3 separate regions of the Homo sapiens genome follow, and regions 1 and 2 are each linked to region 3. Evidence: promoter capture Hi-C in human tissues and cell types (Jung and others, 2019). All regions are on one chromosome and are shown on one strand. Each heading gives the region's core, a stretch centred on a gene start or on the middle of the fragment in contact. The rest is flanking DNA. Distances are from core to core; before and after follow the strand shown. Region 1 overlaps ING5 (inhibitor of growth family member 5). Region 2 overlaps ATG4B (autophagy related 4B cysteine peptidase). Region 3 holds the start of PDCD1 (programmed cell death 1).

Region 1 (3,285 bases), core at 202-2,701, 140 kb after region 3:
TTAAAGGAGATTAAAACTAACTTAGGGCCGGGCACAGCAGCTCACGCCTGTAATCCCAGCACATCGGGAGGCCAAAAACAGGCAGATCCACCTGAGGCCAGGAGTTCGAGACCAGCCTGCATAACACGGTGAAACCCTGTCTATACTAAAAATACAAAATTAGCCAGTCATGGTGGCACGTGCCTGTAATTCCAGCTACTTGGGAGGCTGAGGCAGAGAATCGCTTGAACTTGGGAGGCGGAGCTTGCAGTGAGCCAAGATTGTACCAGTGCACTCCAGCCTGGGTGACCAAGCAAGACCGTCTCAAAAAAAAAAAAAAAAAGACAGAAAGAGAAAAGAAGGAAGGAAGGAAGGAAGGGAGGGAGGGAGGAAGGGAGGGAGGGAGGGAAGGAGGAAGGAAGTGAGGGAGGGAGGGAGGAAGGGAGGAAAGAAGAAAGGAAGGAAGGAAAGAAAGAAGGAAAGGGAAGGTGAGAGGCTGAGCTGGGCGGATCACTTGAGGCCAGGAGTTTGAAACCAGCCTGGCCAACAGGCTGAAACCCCGACTCTACTAAAAATACAAAACTTAGCCGGGTGTGGTGACGCTCACCTGTAATCCCAGCTACTTGGAAGGCTGAGGCGGGAGAATGGCTTGAACCCGGGAGGCAGAGGCTGCGGTGAGCGGAGATTGCGCCACCGCACTCCAGCCTGGGCCACAGAGCCTGAACCTGTCTCATAAATAAATAAAGTAATAGAAACAAATCAAACTGAAGTACAGAAAGAAAAAAGCTTGCAGAAAGTAAGCAGAGCCTCGGTGAGCTGTGAGAAAATCTAAGCTAAGGAACGCACAGGGAGCTGGACAGCAGGAAGAGGAGAAAGGAGAGCACAAAAATACTGGAAGAACTGTCTGAAAATTTTCCAAATTCGATGCAAAGTATAAACCAACAGTTCAAAGATGCTCAACAAGTTCCACGCAAAATATACACAAAAAAATCACACCAATACACATCATAACCAAACTGTTAAGAGCCAGTGACAATGAGAAATCTTAAAAGCAAAAAAAAAAAAAGAAACCACCAAAAATAATTATTATCAGTAATTTATCATCAGAATCAATGAAAGACAGAAGAAAATGAGAGAACATCTTTAGCGATAAAAGAAAAAAGGTCAACCTAAAATTCTATACGCAGTGAAATAAAAGCATTTTCAGAGAAACAAAAACAGAGAATTCATCACCATCAGCATACATGTACTGCAAAAAATGTTAAAGTTCTTCAGTAGAGGAGAAATGACAAGACAGAAATTTGCATCCACATAAAGAAATATACGTAAGCAGAATATGTATGGAAAAAAAATTTTTAAAGAAAGAAAATAAATATTAAGAAATAATAGTTGGGCCAGGCGCGGTGGCTCATGCCTGTCATCCTGCCACTTTGGGAGGCTGAGGCGAGAGGGTCACTGGAGGCCAGGAGTTCGAGACCAGCCTGGCCAACATGGCAAAACCCCATCTCTACTAAAAATACAAAAATTAACCAGGTGAGTAGGTGGGTGTAATCTCAGCTACTCAGGAGGCTGAGGCACAAGAATCACTTGAACCTGGGAGGCAGAGGTTGCCGTGAGCTGAGATCGCACCACTGCACTCCAGCCTGGGACACAGAGCAAGACTCTGTCTCAAAAAAAAAAAAAAATGAAGGTTACCAGAAATGGCAACTATATGAGGTAACTATATATGGGGTGACTTTTGTGGTGAGAACACTTAAAATCTACACATTTTTTTGAGACTATATTGTTATTAACTGTAGTCACCATGTTGTAAAACGGATCTTTTGAACTTATTCCTCCTATCTAAATGAAATTCTGTATCCAACGTCTCCCCTGACCACCCCAGCGCCTGACCACCATTCTACTCTCTACTTCTGTGAGTTCAACATCTTTACATTCCACATATATTTTAAGGCGTGTTTCACGTCATCAGTGGTTTGCATCTAAGGTAATAACGTGCTGGGAAGCTCAGATCACAGGCAAAGTGAAGGACAACAGCACAAAGGCAGGAAATGGAAGAACACTTGTGTGGAGCCACACGTTAAACATCAAATAGTGTAATATCTGAAGCTCACTGTGATAACTTAAGGAAACTGAGTGCACACACTAGAACAATCCTTAAAATACAGGGGCCGGGGCAGTGGCTCACGCCTGTAATCCTAGCACTTTGGGAGGCCGAGGTGGGTGGATCACTTGGGGTCAGGGGTTCGAGACCAGCCTGGCCAAAATGGTGAAAACCTGTCTCTACTAAAAATACAAAAACATTAGCCGGGTGTGGTGGCGCACACCTATAATCCCAGCTACTGCGGAGGCTGAGGCATGAGAATCGCTTGAACCTGGGAAGCAGAGGTTGTAGTGAGCCAAGATCATGCCATTGCAAATTGTACTCCAGCCTGGGCAACAGTGCAAGACTCCGTCTCAAAAAAAAAAAAAAAAAAAAAAGCATGGCTAATAAGACAAGAGTGGGGAAAAAAACGGAATACTAAAAAATACCTGATTAGTCCAAAAGAAGACAGCAAAGGAGCAGAAGGAACAAACAGAAAACTAATAGCAAGATGGTGAACCTAAATCCCACCATATCATTAATTATGTTAAATATGAACAGACCAAATATTGCAATGAAGGCCGGGTGCGGTGGCTCATGCCTGTAATCCCAGCACTTTACAGGGAGGGGAGGCCAAGGTGGGCAGATCATTTGAGGTCAGGAGTTCGAGACCAGCCTGCCCAGCATGGTGAAATCCTGTCTCTGTTAAAAATACAAAAATTAGCTGGCTTTCAAAGGATTTCAATTATGTAATGTTCTTTGACCACAACAGAAGTCAACTAAAAAATTAAAATTAGAAAGGTATCTGAAAAATCCCAAATTATTTGGAAATTGAGACACATACTTCTACATAAGTTATAGGGCAAAGAAGTAGCATGAAAAAAAAAATTCTAGGTCAGGTGCGGTGGCTCACGCCTGTAATCCCAGTATGTTGGGAGGCCAAGGCAGGCAGATCACCTGAGGTCAGGAGTTCAAGACCAGCCTGGCCAACATGGTGAAACCCTGTCTCTACTAAAAATACAAAAAAAAATTAGCCAGGCATGGTGATACGTGCCTGTAATCCCAGCTACCCAGGAGGCTGAGGCAAGAGAATTGCTTGAACCTGGGAGGTGGAGGTTGCAGTGAGCCAAGATCACACCACTGCACTCAAGCCTGGGCAACAGAGTGAGGCTCCGTCTCACCAAAAAAAAAAAAAAAAAAAAAAAAATTCTATTCCAGCACTT
Region 2 (3,395 bases), core at 39-2,538, 210 kb after region 3:
AAATTCTTGTAACAGCAGCACTCCCTCTCGTATCTCGGGCCTACCAAGACACCCACCATGGATGGAGTAAACTCTTAGGAAAGAGAAGGAGGCCCTGCTGGGCAGCTGCTCTGCTAAGGTATGGGGACAGGGAGGTGGGGCCAGCATGCTACTTCCTGAGCCTTTCATATTCTGAGCCACTGAGTCAGTGTCTAACAGCTGACACGAGGGTGAGAGGCCAAGTTAGGGGCCAACCTGAGGGGTGAGAAAGCAAAAAAATGAAAACCCACCCGATTCAAGCACTTACTTTAGACTTAAAAAGTAAAGGACAAAAATAAAGTTAAACCACCTCCTTCATCCTTGTACGCAAGGGAAGCCAAGAAGAAACAGGGCAAAGAGTCGTTTTCCATGGCCATCCTAAGGTTTACCAGATGTCACCATGGCAGCGTGTTCAGAGTCACTGTGATGAAGGCAGATGCTCCGGGGCAAGAAACACTGAGCTGCTGGGAAGACTGGGGTTCTGGTCTACCCCAATTTCCTGGTTAGGAGCAGGTGCTGGAGAAGCATGGGGTGCTACTCTCAGGTAGAAAGTTAACCCCTGGACACTGAGAGATCAAACTCTCTGCCAAGTCCCCAGAGGTACCCGGGTACAAAAAGCCTAGTGATCAAGGACTGAACCTGTTTTCATTTCAACAATGCTACCAGAAGAGCATGCCACCACTTCCATGGGGCAACACCCCACTTTCTAAGGAGGCAGCTGGCTGCAGAGCCATGGTGCTTACCTGCTGGGCTAATGATTAGCCCTGCATGCCATCTTACTCTGTTTTACTTCAATTAAGAAACTAGGCCAGGCACAGTGGCTCATGCCTGTGATCCCAGCACTCTGGGAGGCCGAGGTGGGCAGATCACCTGAGGCCAGGAGTTTGAGACCAGCCTGGTCAACATGGTGAAACTCCGTCTCTACTAAAAGTACAACAATTAGCCAGGCGTGGTGGCGGGCGCCTGTAATCCCAGCTACTAGGGAGACTGAGCCAAGAGAATCACTTGAACCCAGAAGGTGGAGGTTGCAGTGAGCTGAGATTGTGCCACTGCACTCCAGCCTGGGTGACAAGAGTGAAACTCCATCTCAAAAAAAAAAAAAAAAGAAAAAGAAAAGAAAAAGAAAAAAAAGAAAGAAAGAAACTAGAGAGGCCCAGGGTCTTCCTGTCCACAGAACTGTGGCTGAGGATACCCATGTCCCACAATGTTCCTGAAAAGAAGGCGCCAGCCAGCAGCAATGCACCAGCCCAAACACCCATGTGGCGAGATGCCCATTGCGTATTCTGGGGCGGCACCAGAGGCATCTCTCTCCAGCTGCTCTTCAGGGAACTGGGAACACACAATTCCCATCTGCTGCCTCTCCAGCTCTGATGGTGTCTGATCACTCATCCTTCACCAGCAACTTTACAGCAATCTTTTGAAAATCAATCACATATGAATTTCTCCCACATCTAAATTTACTTTTTGATAACAACCCCACACTTCAATAAGAATGACATATGCTAATCATAAAAAATTCTGAAGACTACAAAAATACACAAATCACGTGAAGCCTCGTTGCCCAGCAATGACTCTTTCCAGAAGTCTTTATGCACAGGTTCGTACGTGAAATCATACTATGCCTGTGGTTTCCTCAGCATTCTACATAAACACAGATCTCCACCTAAGCTGATACTAAAAAGCATCGTGTGTGAACTTCTGTGCTGTGCACAATCCCCTTGGGGAGGCAGGGGGCAGTCAGAATTTAAAGCCCAGCTTGGGTACTGGTAAACTGTAGTTTCCTGGGCCACTCACTTAACTTCTAAGTGTGAATGTTCCCTCATCCATAAAATGGGATAACAACAGGACAGCCTCAGCATATGGGTGTGACGTTTCAATGAAACACTTCCAATGAGGTGCTGGCTGGCAGACAGAAGGGCTGCAATGTCCGCTCTGTCATTAACATCGAGGACTCAGAACCACAGGGTCAAAGGCACACAAATTTTACTATACCCAAAAGCCTTAATTGTATGCGCAGCTAATTCCCAAACACAGGGTTCAGAAGCACCTGCAAGCATCTCCCTCGGTGCAGGCAGAACTACCAAATCCACAATAGAGGGCCCTACAGGCACTGTTTAAAGGATTCTCAGCTGTGGGAGACCCAGGCCCCTCTCTGCCCCTTTCCTAGAGTAGTGCTGTGGCTTCCTGAGCAAGATGACGGGCGTTGTGGAGCGGCTGCAGCCAGATGAAGCAAGCTTTCCACAGCAGGGCTTTGTCCAAGAGCTCTGCTCCTGTTTTTTTTTCTTTTTTTTTTTTGAGACCGGGACTCATTTTGTCACCCAGGCTGGAGTACAGTGGTGTAATCACAGCTTACTGCAGCCTCAAACTCCCAGGCTCAATCAATTCTCCGGTCTCAGCCTCCTGAGCAGCTGAGACTACAGGCATGTGCCACCACACCCAGCTAATTCTTGTATTTTTTGTAGAGATGAGGTCTAATCATGTTGTCAAGCTGGTCTCAAACTCCTAGGCTCAAGCAATCCACCTGCCTTAGCCTCCCGAAGGCTGGGATTACAGGCATGAGCCACTGCACCTGGCCCCCAAGAGCTCTGCTCTTACATATTTCACTTGTCCATGCTTTCAGAGACATTATCAACCAAACTGCTTGGTGACTGTGAATAAATAAAGTCCAAGTTTACATTCTCTCCTGCCTTTTTATATATATGTTACTTGTTTCTGCACATGATTACAAAAACTGAATTAGGATGAATTAAGGTCCATGCCTTTTTTTTATTCTTTTGTGATGGAGTCTCACTCTGTTGCCCAGGCTGAAGTGCAGTGGCATGATCTTGGCTCCCTGCAACCTCCACCTTCCGGGTTCAAGAAATTCTCCTGCCTCATCCTCCCGAGTAGCTGGGATTACAGACATCTGCCACCATGCCCGGCTAATTTTTGTATTTTTAGTAGAGACAGGGTTTCACTGTGTTAGCCAGGCTGGTCTCGATCTCCTGACCTCAAGTGATCCACCCACCTCGGCCTCCCAAAGTGCTGGGATTACAGGCGTGAGCCACAGCATCCGGCCCACTCCTATCTTTTTAAAGAGCTGAAAAACATCATGATGTCCCTGCTACCTCTCTAAAGCCACTCCTGAATCTTCAGAAGTCCCTACTATTCTTTGACCTGTAGGCTTTATTCAATATATAGACTAAAATCCAGAAAACTTATTCTCAAGGAAAAAGGATGAAAACACCACCGGTCTAATTTCTTTTCTTTTTTTTTTTTTTTTTTTTTGAGACGGAGTCTCACTCTGTCGCCCACCAGGCTGGAGTGCAGTAGCGCGATCTCGGCTCACTGCAAGCTCTGCCTCCCGGCTCATGCCATTCTCCTGCCTCAGCCTCCTG
Region 3 (3,293 bases), core at 147-2,646:
ATGGAGGCACCTACCAACCAACAGTTCTCCAGCCCCAGAGCCCCAGCCCCTGAGGCACAAGGGTGGGTGTGCCAGGAGACAGTTGCTGCGGGCCACCTTAGCTGTCTGGCAGCACAGTGGGTGCTGCCAGGCTCCCTGGGGGCCCCCCGCCAAGCCCACCTGGCCAGCTGGGCCCCCCCCACCTCCCCACCAAGCCACCCACACAGCCTCACATCTCTGAGACCCGGGAGTGGCCCTTTGTTCATAAACGAGAGCTTCCTCGCCGTGGCCGCGCCTCGCAGACATCATCTTTGATGCTCTTTTTCCACTGTTTCGGTGCTTTAATGTTTTCCCTTCAGAGCCGGGCCGAGTGTCTCTCGGAGCCAGGCAGCCGCGCCAGCTGTCAGGCGGTTTCTAGCCTCGCTTCGGTTATTTTAAGCTGATGAGCCTGACGCATCTCATCACTAATATCAGCAGTTTCATTTCTCCTGTTTTCCATTCGCTGTAATAAAATGCTCAGCACAGAATACAAGGAGATAAGCAAGCCATTTCACAAACGCCGGGCCGCCAGCCAGGCCCAGGCACTGGACCCCCTGAACCACCCCACCCTGGCACGAGTGGGCTGGAGGGCAGGGCCCCGGGGAAGAAGGTCAAGGCTGGAAGGGGAGGTCAGCCTCACAGCCAGCCCCTGCCACCGCCCCAGCCCCCCCGTCAGGCTGTTGCAGGCATCACACGGTGGAAAGATCTGGAACTGTGGCCATGGTGTGAGGCCATCCACAAGGTGGAAGCTTTGAGGGGGAGCCGATTAGCCATGGACAGTTGTCATTCAGTAGGGTCACCTGTGCCCCAGCGAAGGGGGATGGGCCGGGAAGGCAGAGGCCAGGCACCTGCCCCCAGCAGGGGCAGAGGCTGTGGGCAGCCGGGAGGCTCCCAGAGGCTCCGACAGAATGGGAGTGGGGTTGAGCCCACCCCTCACTGCAGCCCAGGAACCTGAGCCCAGAGGGGGCCACCCACCTTCCCCAGGCAGGGAGGCCCGGCCCCCAGGGAGATGGGGGGGATGGGGGAGGAGAAGGGCCTGCCCCCACCCGGCAGCCTCAGGAGGGGCAGCTCGGGCGGGATATGGAAAGAGGCCACAGCAGTGAGCAGAGACACAGAGGAGGAAGGGGCCCTGAGCTGGGGAGACCCCCACGGGGTAGGGCGTGGGGGCCACGGGCCCACCTCCTCCCCATCTCCTCTGTCTCCCTGTCTCTGTCTCTCTCTCCCTCCCCCACCCTCTCCCCAGTCCTACCCCCTCCTCACCCCTCCTCCCCCAGCACTGCCTCTGTCACTCTCGCCCACGTGGATGTGGAGGAAGAGGGGGCGGGAGCAAGGGGCGGGCACCCTCCCTTCAACCTGACCTGGGACAGTTTCCCTTCCGCTCACCTCCGCCTGAGCAGTGGAGAAGGCGGCACTCTGGTGGGGCTGCTCCAGGCATGCAGATCCCACAGGCGCCCTGGCCAGTCGTCTGGGCGGTGCTACAACTGGGCTGGCGGCCAGGATGGTTCTTAGGTAGGTGGGGTCGGCGGTCAGGTGTCCCAGAGCCAGGGGTCTGGAGGGACCTTCCACCCTCAGTCCCTGGCAGGTCGGGGGGTGCTGAGGCGGGCCTGGCCCTGGCAGCCCAGGGGTCCCGGAGCGAGGGGTCTGGAGGGACCTTTCACTCTCAGTCCCTGGCAGGTCGGGGGGTGCTGTGGCAGGCCCAGCCTTGGCCCCCAGCTCTGCCCCTTACCCTGAGCTGTGTGGCTTTGGGCAGCTCGAACTCCTGGGTTCCTCTCTGGGCCCCAACTCCTCCCCTGGCCCAAGTCCCCTCTTTGCTCCTGGGCAGGCAGGACCTCTGTCCCCTCTCAGCCGGTCCTTGGGGCTGCGTGTTTCTGTAGAATGACGGGTCAGGCTGGCCAGAACCCCAAACCTTGGCCGTGGGGAGTCTGCGTGGCGGCTCTGCCTTGCCCAGGCATCCTTGGTCCTCACTCGAGTTTTCCTAAGGATGGGATGAGCCCCATGTGGGACTAACCTTGGCTTTACGACGTCAAAGTTTAGATGAGCTGGTGATATTTTTCTCATTATATCCAAAGTGTACCTGTTCGAGTGAGGACAGTTCTTCTGTCTCCAGGATCCCTCCTGGGTGGGGATTGTGCCCGCCTGGGTCTCTGCCCAGATTCCAGGGCTCTCCCCGAGCCCTGTTCAGACCATCCGTGGGGGAGGCCTTGGCCTCACTCTCCCGGATCGAGGAGAGAGGGAGCCTCTTCCTGGGCTGCCCGTGACCCTGGGCCCTCTGTGTACACTGTGACCACAGCCCGCTCCTGGACCCTCTGTGCCCGGCTGGCCCTCTGTGCCCAGCCAGCCTGCACCTGGGGATGCCAAGGCCTGGGGAGGGTGGTTTCACCCAGGCCAAGCCTAAGACAGTCCCTCTGGGCCCTGCTGGGTACCGGGGTGTGACACCACTGGGAGGACAAGATGAGGGGCACCCCTGGGGCCGCCCTGACACCCCCTCGAGGCTCCTGCCCCGGGGGTCCTGGTGCCCCTTCACTGTGGCAGGCGACTGGGGGTTCCCCACCTCGGCCCCTCTCCCGGGGCCTGCTCCCCGGCACCTGAGGCAGCATCCTTGTCAGGGCCGTGCCTTCCTGCCTCAGCGCCACCTCTTAAGGTTGGCCCGTGGGTCACTCAGGACTCAGAACTGGAGATTCTGGGCAAAAGGCAAAGAGCAAAGGGCCAAAAGGCATCCCAGGGAGACGACTGCGGGGGAACCAGAGGGCAGAGGGGCGCTCGTCACAGGGGAGGGGGAGCTGAGCGAGGCAGGAGGGGAGCCGAGCCTCTCCCCCCGTGTCCCGGCTCTTCAGGCACGCCCTCGGGACGCCACCCTCCCCGACCCAGGCGGGAAAGATAAGAGCAAGGTGTCCGCAGCCTGACACTCGTGCCTCAGGTGCCCGCGCTTGTGCCGGACAAGACTCTCACAGGTGGCATGCCTCGGTTTCCCCACTGGTAACAGCACAGGGCACTCAGCAAGGCGCAGTGGGCATGACTGGGGTCCTGTGGGTCCTGACCCAGATGTGGCCACCCCGGCCGCAGTGGTCTTCATTCCAGGATGCCTCTTTTCCCTCCTGATCTATTCACTGCGTTCGCCATTCGGTCATTCCCGGGGCCACCACTCCCACCTCAGGTGTGTGCTTCCCTTGTGTTTTATGAGATATCCCCAACCCGGCTGCTTATTGGCCCCGTCCGAGGGCAGGAGCATAAATAAGAGCCTCTGCTTTGGCGTGGGACCACTGTGAGCTCCAGTC

What was found. The method cuts DNA at HindIII sites, captures the fragments that hold promoters and counts their contacts. A contact is called where the count stands out against the background at its distance.
Region 1: a contact is called between a fragment that was not itself captured here and the fragment with the promoter of PDCD1 in region 3, in 2 of the 25 tissues and cell types used here (lymphoblastoid cells and spleen).
Region 2: a fragment that was not itself captured here is called in contact with the fragment with the promoter of PDCD1 in region 3 in 2 of the 25 tissues and cell types used here (fat and lymphoblastoid cells).

What each region holds. Positions count from the first base shown.
Region 1 is chr2:241,715,457-241,718,741 of GRCh38, reverse strand. All of the region lies in intron 5 of ING5 (inhibitor of growth family member 5), which reads right to left. Among named protein-coding and RNA genes, the nearest start is that of ING5, 15 kb to the right of the region's middle. The HindIII fragment of the contact is 9,714 bases long and covers 1-3,285 here.
Region 2 is chr2:241,647,513-241,650,907 of GRCh38, reverse strand. All of the region lies in intron 1 of ATG4B (autophagy related 4B cysteine peptidase), which reads right to left. Among named protein-coding and RNA genes, the nearest start is that of ATG4B, 12 kb to the right of the region's middle. The HindIII fragment of the contact is 8,495 bases long and covers 1-3,395 here.
Region 3 is chr2:241,856,997-241,860,289 of GRCh38, reverse strand. PDCD1 (programmed cell death 1) reads left to right here and starts at 1,396. Exons shown (of 5, transcript NM_005018.3): 1 at 1,396-1,527. The coding sequence starts at 1,452. LOC124908032 (a long non-coding RNA gene) reads right to left here and starts at 1,218. Exons shown (of 2, transcript XR_007088436.1): 1 at 213-1,218. RefSeq lists an enhancer at 1,228-2,190. The HindIII fragment of the contact is 28,999 bases long and covers 1-3,293 here.